Regions from separate parts of the Homo sapiens genome. Here regions 1, 3 and 4 are each linked to region 2. Evidence: promoter capture Hi-C in 16 types of primary human blood cells and fetal thymus (Javierre and others, 2016). All regions are on one chromosome and are shown on one strand. The core of a region is centred on a gene start or on the middle of the fragment in contact, and the rest is flanking DNA. Distances in the headings are between cores, read along the strand shown.

Region 1 (2,700 bases), core at 85-2,584, 450 kb before region 2:
GATCACCTACACTGTGCAAGGTGCTTCCCTTCATGAAACTTTAATTGGGGGTATGTAGGACATGGTGGTAGAGGTAGACAACACTCAATCATTGTATTAGTCTGTTCTCACACTGCTATAAAGATACTACCCAAGACAGTAATTTATGAAAGAAAGAAGTTTAATTGACTCACAGTTTTGCATGGCTGGAGAGAACTCAGGAAACTTACAATCATGGCAGAAGGCAAACAAGAAGCAAGTACCTTCTTCATAAGGTGGCTGGAAAGAGAAAGAGTGAAAAAGAAACTGCCAAACACTTATAAAACCATTAGATCTCGTGAGAACTCACTCACTACCAAGAGGACAGCATGTGAGAAACCACCTCCATGATCCAATCACTTCCCACCAGATCCCTCCCTCAACACATGAGGATTATGGGGATTACAATTCAAGATGAGATTTGGGTGGGGACACAGAGCCAAACCCTATCAATCATATATCTTTTTATTTGATTAGAAATGTGATAGGAATAGTAGATAGTACATGGTGCTATATAAAATAGGAACGTAGGAGTTAAGAGAAGGCTGCCTTGAGGAAGCAACAACTAAGATAAACTTGAAGGGTAAACAGGAATTATTAGAACAAAATGCCCAAAAGCATGTGGTCTGGGTCACTTTCCAGCTGGAATCAGTACAACAGGAGGCCAGAGAGTAGGGAGGCATGGAAGGTTAGGTTAACACAGGACAGTGCAGAGTTCAAAGTCTTGGAAATCCAATAGGCAAAATTCAAATCCCTGGCTCACCTTTGTACTAGCCTCTCTGAGCCTTTGTTTCTTTAACTCTCATAAATAAATAATACATAGTAAAATACATACTGAATAATATCTACCTATCAATGGTGTTGGGAGAATTAATTTCACAATTTTTCTACTACTAAGTTATGATTTCATCCACATACCAAGCCACTAATAATCCAGAACTCCTTAGGGCTATTTTTGGAGTTTTTAATGACTTATGCCTTAGTGCTGAAATTGTGGTATTAATTTCCTGTGTAATCGGGACTTTCATTAATAATGTCCATATGAATTCCATAGCACTTTTGATTTTAATCTAAGCTTCATAATCTGGAAAATATTTATCTCCTGCATTTTAGGAAATAATCAAATATGAAAACAGAAGTGTTTTGGAAGAAATGAATTGACTTTGTCACTAGGGGGAGACCTACCCAGGTTTTGAAACTTGCCCCAACTTTCAGAGTGGAGAGAATTTTTTTCTGAGAAGTGATGGTGTAGGAAAAGGCACTGAAAAACTTAGCAGTCCTAGCAGGAGGACTGGAGAGGTTCTCTCTCTCTTTTTCTTTTAGTGGCTTTTCACTGTGTTGTACGTGGTGGAGAATAAACTTTAGGGGATGCGATTAACAACATGCCCAAATGCTGAGGCAGTCAGCATGTTTGAATAAATGGTTTGAACATGGTTCTCTAGGCTGAATTTCTGGCAGTGTAGAGGCTTGGAAGCATCACGCAGGGGCAAGACTTCAGAGGGGAACCAGGCAAAAGAGAACTGAGTGGCCTGACCTGGCAGCCATCTGAGAGGGTATGTAAGCTTGATAAGCACCATATTTTCTCAGTGAACTTTTCAGTAACCATAGTCTGTGTGTATGCATATAAGTACTTTTTTCCACTGCACATTTTTCTAAGTACATTCCTCTGTAATCTTGAATCATAAGTGCTTCTGAAGGAGTAGGAGTAGTTTATCTTGACCATTCTGTAGAAGGAAAAAGTCTAGGAATTGTAGGAGGGGAAATAGCTCTCAAAGGAAATGCTCTACAAATTAATTACCTGAGGAACTAACTCACAGAGGGGTGCACTGACACAGGCTGTTACAATTATATTCAGTTAATTATACTTTATCAAAAAGAGATTCAAGCATTAGAATTTTGTTAATAGCAAATGATTTATCTTCTTAGTTCTCTTCAATCTATCAGTACATATATTTTATTTTATAGAGGATACTTGGAATGAAACTATAGACTTTTATTTTAAAAATTAAGAATTAATATAAACATGAAGTTAATATAATTGGTCACAAGGCTGTTTTTAAAAATTGTTTCAAGTATACAGTGGATATTAAATGATTCTAATTATATAATTTATAAACATCATTATAAGAGGTTAAACCTCTTACCAAGTGTGAATTTATATTTAACAAGTTGGCTATTGCCTTACTAAGCATACTTTCTTAATATGAGTTCCATTAATATAAACGTCAGAAGATTCAAATTTCATTAGGTATGGTTGAATTAGGTATCTCTAGAAAACTAATAGAAATACCTTAAAATAGTATTTATTTCTGATTATAAAGATGAATGTATAGTAGTGAAATTTAAAATCATCTATAATCTCTTTACTCAGTGAGAAACACTATTGACATGTTGAGTTATTTTATTCTAGCCTTTATTCCACACAATTTTATTACAAAAATTAAATCATGCTATATACATATTTCAAATTTTGATAATTTCTTTTTCCCAAATAACAATGCTGTGTTGTCTCCATAATCTTTCCATTCTACAAATGAAATATATTTTAATGCTCTCCTTTTAAGCACAAAAGCACTATCTACTGTTTTTTAAACAACATATTTATTTAACCTTTTCTCTTGTCATTAGAAGTCTTCATAAATATCATTTTAAAGGTTACAAGATACTTTATGAGATAGATGA
Region 2 (2,700 bases), core at 12-2,511:
ACACAAGGAGAGTGAATGACACTACAAATTATTGTAGATTGAATAATGAGGTGATATGAAATGGGATAGTGAAAAAAATGTCTTGGCCTTGGGAATCTGAATTCCAGTTGTAGATCTGAGACATATTAATTTTTTTATTATGCAAATTGTGTAAATTTTGTAAAGCACAGTGGTTAAGATCTGGGCTTGGAAATTATAGCTCATCTAAATCTTGTCTCTACCATTTACCCTCTGTGTGACCTTAGACAAGTTGTATAATTTCTCTAAGCATCACTTTTGCTTTTTCAGTAAAGGTTGTGAGGAATAAAGATAAGCAATGAGCATGGTGCCTGGCACAATATTTTCTATTTTTAAAATATAACCTTGAACAAATCAGTGACTCCATTTCTGCATACATTGGGAATAATGTTAATATCCTATTCATTTGGCTGTTGTATCAAAGAGAATAGAAAAGGTGTTGAAGTTCATTGAGGACATTCTATATGTAAGTACATGAATGCATGACCAAATGAAAAGAGAGCTGAGTACAGTGGCAAGTGCCTGTAGTCCCAGCTACTTGGCAGGCTGAGGCAGCAGGATCTCTTGAGTCCAGGAGTTGGAGTTCAGCCAGGGCAACATAGTGAGACCCTCATCTCTTAAAAAATAAATTAATAAAAATAAAAAGAGAGGTAGAAAATGAGAATAAAATGAAAATATTTTAAAATATTAGATGTTAAAAAGCTACCAAGAGAGGGATGAGAATGAGCCATTATTATTCTGATTTTATGGAAATGAAAACTGATGCTTATAAAAAATAAGTAATTTGCTCAGGTTTACTCACTAATAAGTAGATTCAATCCAGAGGTTTTCTACCCCCTAACAATGTTGAGAAAACAGGCATGGCATAGCCAAGGCTTAAGCCCACATCTCTATAATCTTAATGTCCATGAACACATGACCTCTCAAAAGGATCTGAATGAGGAAACTTCATCCCTGCTCTAGAAATAAGGAACATATGGCTGGGTAATTTTAATGAATGGGTGAAGGTCTCACAGGGAGTACAGTAAACCAAAGTTTGAAACAAGGTCTGCCTAATCCAAAAGTCTATGCTTATCCCTGCATTCCACTGCTTTGTTTATTTCGTGACAGACCCCTCACAGGTGAGACTTACTCTTCTTGGCTTCCTCTAGCTTGTCCTTGGCCCGTTTTTCTGCCTGAAGAAGCTGGTGGATCCCCTGAGACTGGCTTGTCATGGTAGTCTGCTCCAAGCAAGTGGCTTCTGTGAAATCTGGGAAGTAATGGGTTCATTTATTCTTTTAGAAATTAACATATAACTCAGATTATTGTGTCAACAGCAAGTTCCAAATGCAGCTGTTTCAAACTGGCTTTATTGGGCTGGATAGCTGGGTCCCAAGGAAAGCCCAAGGTGGAATCTAGAAAAACAAGTTAAACCAATGTGCATAAATTGAGAACTTACCATTTCTGCCAATCTTAGCTCTTCTGTATGAGATAAGGAGGTATAAATGAGGTGTTGCATCTACTTATAAATAATGAATAAGAGACCTTTTAAGAATGTTGGTTTCCCTAATCTTCCAAGAAACATTGACATGTTTACTGAGTTTTTCTTTTAAGTAACAAGATCTTTGCTCTTTGTACCTGCAGTACTTTGTTTCAGGTCTTTTTCTTTATTTGTTTCTAGTGATTCAGTTATCTGCTTGGAGAAAACGTGTTAATCTTTTGTTAGGAAAGAGATTCCCTAGCTTTGTGCATAGATGGTGGACTAAGGATTTTTTTCCCCCAAGGTCTCAGGTGACTGGAATAAAAAGATTTCTTTTGGGCATTGTGCTGCTCTTAAGTAATGCTGTAGGTTGAAGTTCCAGGAAGATCTTACTATGGTGACTAAACAATTAGTAATTTTAGTAGTAGTAATCATGATAGAAATAGACTATAACTGTAGGTTTTGGGATTAAGTTAAAATAATTTAAACATGCATTTTATATTATTCAGTGTTTGTGGTGAGTATTGTCCTAAGATAATACAATAAAATCCATCATACTTGATTTGATTCGATCCAGTAGCAATTGGACAAATCAGAATATTGGTCACAGAGAAGAACCACAAAGTATCATTTATATGTATCTAAAATTTTTATTTGAAGTGAAAAGCTAATCTGTTGACTTAGAATAAGGCTTTCCCCCCGATACGATTTGCAGATTGGGGTTTCACGTATTATTGCTTTCATAAACTATACCTCTATTGCCTCATATGTAAGTGCCAGGTTCATTTTCTTTAATAAGGTGTCTGGATTTAAAGACAATTGTAAAACAATCTGGGCACTAAATCTTTTAAGGCTTTAATGATTATTTTCTCCTAATCTTTTCAAGTTGTCTCATCCATATCTGCATGCCTACATTATGTGTGCATTTTCAGCAAATATTTTCAAAAGGAAAAACTTTTCCACAGGATCACTTTTACTTTTTTTTTTTTTTTTGAAGTCACATTTAATCAGCTTATAAAGTACTTAATTTGTATTGCGTAATTAAATACCTGGTGTAACTGGGATAAACCGATTTTCGAACAAGCACAACTCTTGTATGATCCCTCCAGACAAAAAGATACAAGGTGGCTTAACAGGAAGAAGTCCTAGAGAGGAAAAAGCCTTTGGGAATAACCCAAAATGGAGACTTAGAATGAATTTCATCCTCTCCTGACCCTCAAAAA
Region 3 (2,700 bases), core at 97-2,596, 360 kb before region 2:
GACTTTTAGATTTCATGTAGTGCCATTACTGAAGAAATGATTATTTGAAAAATTTCACTGGATGATGGACTAATCTATGAACCCAATTTAAAATGTGTTTTGTTAACATTTGACAGAGTAAAGCAAATCATTTCTTTAAAAATGACATGTGAGGGTAAGTGGTTGAATTGAAGGAGAAACTTCATTAAACTTTGTCAGTTAATGAAATGATTTCATTTGTTAGGATTCTGTTTTTTCTTGTTTTAATAGAAAAAAGTGATATATATATATAATTTTAAAATGGCTTTATATACTTGATATGTTCAAATATGCGTAGATATTTTCAGGTTTACCTCTGTTGATGGAAATAAAGAGTGAAATAATAAAAAAGGTAGGCAACAGGTAGAAGTGAATAGCAGGGCATCAGAATAATCATCTTCTCAATAGTTGGCTGTAATGAATATTTTTTACTTCAAGATGGTAAATCCAAGAAGAATTAGAGATGTGGATAATGATGGTCAGCTTTCAGTTAGAAAGGTGTTCTTGCACATACATTAATAATGTTTTCACCATTCTTAATTTGTCTCTTTCATTTAGATCATATATTAAATATTAAGTAGGTCGACCTATTTTGGCTTCTGTGTCTAAATGGACAAGGGTGTTTTAATCTCTTAGGCCTTGAACTGGAGAGAGGGAGAATGGATGTGAATAAAAGTGTGTGTATGTGTGTGCGCATGTGAGAGAGAGAGATAGAGCTTTCCTGTTACAGCCCAAAACCATGATTATGGTTCACAACCTGGGGTTGGTTTTCTGGTTTGTATTCTTGCTGCCAGGCCTGTGGCCATTGATTTCTACATGTATGAAAAGTAATTAATCTGGAAAAAAATGCAGGGATTTTGGAATTATTTTTTGGAAACATTACTTATGTATTCTGGATTTTAGAAACTGTTACTTTCAAACTCTTTGTTCTTTGTTTTATTACGTGCTAACCATCTACTTATAATTTTTACATACTTTAATGGCTCAGTAAAATATAGTACAACTGATTACAGTTATTTGTTGTACTCTGAGAAGGCTTATTATGGGAAAAAAAACTGTGTTGGATATAATGGGAGATTCAGAGGAATCTACTACAGACTTTGTTGTTATGGACTTCATAATCCCGATTGATAGTAGTCATTAACAATATAAGAAAGGCCCTTAGTGCCACTAGAGTATACCATAGTATAGGCCTTCTACAGGAAGGGGATGTCTCCTTTGGTTTGAATGAGAACTCATGGAAGCATAGGGATTTGTGCTTGGCTTTGAGAGGAGGCCATTGTGGTAGGTGAAATTATAATAGGATTTCTGAAACTCAAAAATGGGCCAGTTTGGCAGAAATAAGTGGGGCATGAGGTTCTGATTCATTCTCTTTATAGCTGCCAAAATGGTGGTATTTGTGAAATGAAAAATCAACCCTATAACTCCCATCTGGAAAACCCGTCTTTAGAGGTTACATTGGTAGCCTGAAACTTCAGATTTTTCTTGATTTTTCATGTGGCGATGTCTCTGGAAGATGTTTCGGAATACTACTACTTCCACTAGGCCATGAGCTCTTTAATGGAACCATTCTGAGTACCTGCCTGGTTCAAAGGAGGAGTTTAGTAAATTTCCGTTGAATAGATAGGGGCCTGTAATTCCAGGCTAAGGAATTTATTGTAAAGATTGTGAAGAATCATCAGAAATGTTTTTTTAAAAAAGAATGATACAGTGAAAGATACAATGAAGGAGGTATTCTAGGATGATTTAATTGCAGCCAATTGAGTATTATGCATGCTGACCCTCTAAATATTATACTTTGAAATGTTTCTGACTTATAGTAAATAAACATTTTAGTTAATAATGTCCTAAACATGTGTGTTAGTCAGTTGATACAACAAATGTTCAAATTTCTGCTGCTTTTTTTTTGGACTCTAAATTAGCATTTAGAGGCAGCTTTTTACCAATGTTTTTTAAGTTTATCAAGATGAAACAGGGTTAAGCAGGCATTATATTTTCATTCATTCAGCAAATATTTGCATGCCTGCTATGTGCCTATGGTGTTCTGAGCACTGGAAACACAGTGGTGATAAATATAGCATGTGACTCGAGACGTTTTTAATGGTCTAATGTCATTCATAATTCTGAAGTGGTTCAAGAAACAGGTGAAGAAAATGTAAAAACAATTTTTTTTCTTTCCTTTATTCCGTTTTATCCTAACAAATATTGTAAGTGGATATCTTGGAATGTAGGTGCCTACCCTGGGCTTACTTGAACATTATGTATGTTGGTGGTATCTGGTCCATTTAATAGTTGGATGTTTACTTAACAACAGCTTTCTTTAAAATGATTTTATAATGAGATTTGTACATGCCAGATTTTAGAATTTTTGAAGAATGTTTTGTTATTACTGCTGTATAGTGTGAAAATAGTAATTTTTCACACCATATTAGCTACCCTCGTAGTATGCAAGGATTTGACTTTATTCACTGGGCAATTTTCACAAATGACAAACACATTATAAATAAATGTATGGAATGTTTCACCTATTCAGACACAAGAATCCTTTATAACAATTGGTTTATGACTCAGTGCGATTTTTCTTGAAGGGGTAGATTTACAGTTCTAAATATTATCTCTTCAGTTGATTAGCTTAACTTCCTGTCGATCTGTTTGACAGACAAATTTTACATGGCTATTGTT
Region 4 (2,700 bases), core at 73-2,572, 390 kb after region 2:
TTAAAAGAATTACTTGTGATAAAATGATAGAAAAAGCCAACTCAAATAATTTTCATTGAAGACAAATCTTGCAGCTATATTAATATTAATAAAAATTAAATGCTTTTGATTAGTCTAGATTGGCTTGTAATGGTAAAACACAAAGACAAAACTGAGGCAGTGAGCCTCACAATGCCTCTACTGATTTCTCTACTGGCCCTTCCTCTGCACATGGTCAATTAGAATTGAAAATCCTGTGCTGATTTCATTCGCTGGAATTTTTAAGCAGGTCAGGAAGAAAGATGTTATTGAAAGGAAAAGTCTCATCTAAATAAGAAAGGAGCACGTGGCCATCTGGTCTTAGCTATACATATAAAAAGTTATTTCAGCTGAACTGCAGTCTTGATGTTTAAAAAGATGTGCCAGAAATCAAACCAAAATCTGTTTACGGTAAAATATCCCAAATGTTTCTTTTTAAACTTTCAAATATGCAATACACAGTTCATTTCCTATCTGTGATTCATGAGCCCATTTGACCCCAGCGCCTCACTGAGCTTGACTGAGTTTCACTCAGTAGAACATTCAATCATTTTTAGAACACTTTTCCTTCATAGAGTGTCAACAAGACAGTGGATCTTTTGAAAATTGTGAAAATAACTTTGATAGTTTTCACTCAAATTAATTTTGAGTATTGTCGTCATGTAGGATTGCAAGAATAAAATTTGAAACATAAAGCAGCCAAACCAGTTTCCCTTGTTTTCTCATCGCAACTTGAGGTTCCTGTGCATTCTCTGCACAGTGCTCAGGTATCTACTCACAATAATTTCAGGCCCTATGCCTAAAGGCTAAGTTAAAAAAAATTCTCTTTTCATGAAGAGAAATTTTAAGTGTTGAGTCTTCTTTTGCAAATCATTTTCATGGTAGTAAGAAACAGAGATGGTTTTAAAAATCACATTTTATACTGTTTGTCAAATTAGAGTCATATCTTTTGATATTCTTCTTTGACATGAGGTATTTGTGGTAATTATAACATCAATACATTAATTCATCCAATATCTGATAATGCCCTTCTGGTAGTATAGACATAGCTAGTTGATATCGCAATCTGAATTTTATTGTATTGAAGTACATTAGTAGTCTTCAAGAACTCTTATTATAAAGTGACAACAATTATTTGGGGTCAGAAGACTATATTCAAATACATTATATATATATATACATATATATATATACTAAATATGCTACATGCATGTAAGAGACATACATGATCATAATATCAGCACATGCTAAACAACGATGTAGATTTAAGCTAAGTCTTCAGATAAATACTTGGATTAAAATATTCTAATATATGAAACAAAAGCCTCTTGACATATCTTTGACATAAAATGCCCACTGGTTGTTTTTGTATATCTACTATGTTTGTTCTGCCATTTCAAATAAATCATTGCCATTGTGTAAGAAGAATAAACTGTACTATAGTAAATTGTTCTTTCTCCGTTATGCTCTGAAAAACCATTTGTTCTTGAATTGGCGTTACGTAGTTCAACTATTTCAATCAAGTCCATTATCTTCTTGTCTTTGAAAGATGCCTTTTCAGTAACCTGTACCCAATGGGCAATGTCATGTATTGTTTTTTGAAAGTAGGTAAAATTTAAACACAACTATTTGCCCATTTTAATCTTTGATAAGGAAATTATATAATTAATCATCAATCTTCCACTATATGTTGGAAGAACTGTTTATGTCAAAATTACAGAGTTAGGCCAAGAATTTCTTAACGAAGTTATTTATTAGTTCATAGTGGAGTCTTACCCTATAGACTGTCATCTAACTTGTGTAGCTTGTTTTCTCTAAGTACAAAATGTGTCAATTCTTTAGCTACATACTTTTCTTAACAATAGTAACATGAAAGCAGAAAAAGAACAAAACATTTTTTCATTTGTTTTAAAACAGTCACAAAATACATTGGCAAAATGAATCTTATTAATTTGTTGACATATACGTAGTGCTGTTTATACATATATGCTTTGAAATTCCTTTCAGATTAATTGCTTTTTAGTACGCAAGAATGAAGAAGTATTAAGAGCAAATTCCAAAATTTTAAAACTCATGTATCAGATACGTGGTATGTAAAAACTGGTAAGTATAGCAGTCATTCTATTCTAATGAAGATTAATTTAAATTACACATCAAAACTTGGTAGTTAAGGGGTAGAATGTATACAGAGTTGTTCTATATCTACCTCTCAAATCTGGCAATATGTTTTGGTAAAAGTATTAAACTTTATTGGAGTGAAATAAAATAATGTACTGAAATGTGTGCATTAATAAAAATCTGAGCACATGTTTGGTGAGTAACTATCCAGTATAAGACCCATAAAACAGACTTGAAAATAAATACAAACCCTGAACTAGCTCACACGAAAGTTAATTCAACTACTATCTAATCCATAGATATACCCTTATAAAAGCACATGAGAGAGCATTACTTCTAAATCATTGGTACAAAACTGTTCTCTCCTAAAGAAATAAGTTAAAAGTAAAAAGGATTTAATTGTTACAAAATGTTAAGTGGCGAATAAAAAACACCAAGTCATAATAAATTGAAGTATTGTAGCATTTTTATCCAACTTGATTTCAAAATGCTCACCATTTCTACATCCTATTTATATCATTGAAATTCAGCCACCTTTCAAATGTTCAAACAGCATATTAATAA

The links. The method cuts DNA at HindIII sites, captures the fragments that hold promoters and counts their contacts. A CHiCAGO score of 5 or more calls a contact.
Region 1: a fragment that was not itself captured here is called in contact with the fragment with the promoter of ATP6V1G3 in region 2 in 1 of 17 cell types (naive CD8 T cells); the score reaches 5.9 in naive CD8 T cells.
Region 3: a fragment that was not itself captured here is called in contact with the fragment with the promoter of ATP6V1G3 in region 2 in 1 of 17 cell types (activated CD4 T cells); the score reaches 5.4 in activated CD4 T cells.
Region 4: a fragment that was not itself captured here is called in contact with the fragment with the promoter of ATP6V1G3 in region 2 in 1 of 17 cell types (non-activated CD4 T cells); the score reaches 6.5 in non-activated CD4 T cells.

What each region holds. Positions count from the first base shown.
Region 1 is chr1:198,087,327-198,090,026 of GRCh38, forward strand. No RefSeq gene overlaps it. Among named protein-coding and RNA genes, the nearest start is that of NEK7, 68 kb to the right of the region's middle. The HindIII fragment of the contact is 487 bases long and covers 1,092-1,578 here.
Region 2 is chr1:198,539,419-198,542,118 of GRCh38, forward strand. ATP6V1G3 (ATPase H+ transporting V1 subunit G3) reads right to left here and starts at 1,262. Exons shown (of 3, transcript NM_001376861.1): 1 at 1,151-1,262. The coding sequence starts at 1,232. The HindIII fragment of the contact is 10,140 bases long and covers 1-2,700 here.
Region 3 is chr1:198,181,724-198,184,423 of GRCh38, forward strand. All of the region lies in intron 1 of NEK7 (NIMA related kinase 7), which reads left to right. Among named protein-coding and RNA genes, the nearest start is that of NEK7, 26 kb to the left of the region's middle. The HindIII fragment of the contact is 5,128 bases long and covers 1-2,700 here.
Region 4 is chr1:198,932,189-198,934,888 of GRCh38, forward strand. All of the region lies in intron 1 of MIR181A1HG (MIR181A1 host gene), which reads right to left. Among named protein-coding and RNA genes, the nearest start is that of MIR181A1HG, 3.9 kb to the right of the region's middle. The HindIII fragment of the contact is 5,909 bases long and covers 1-2,700 here.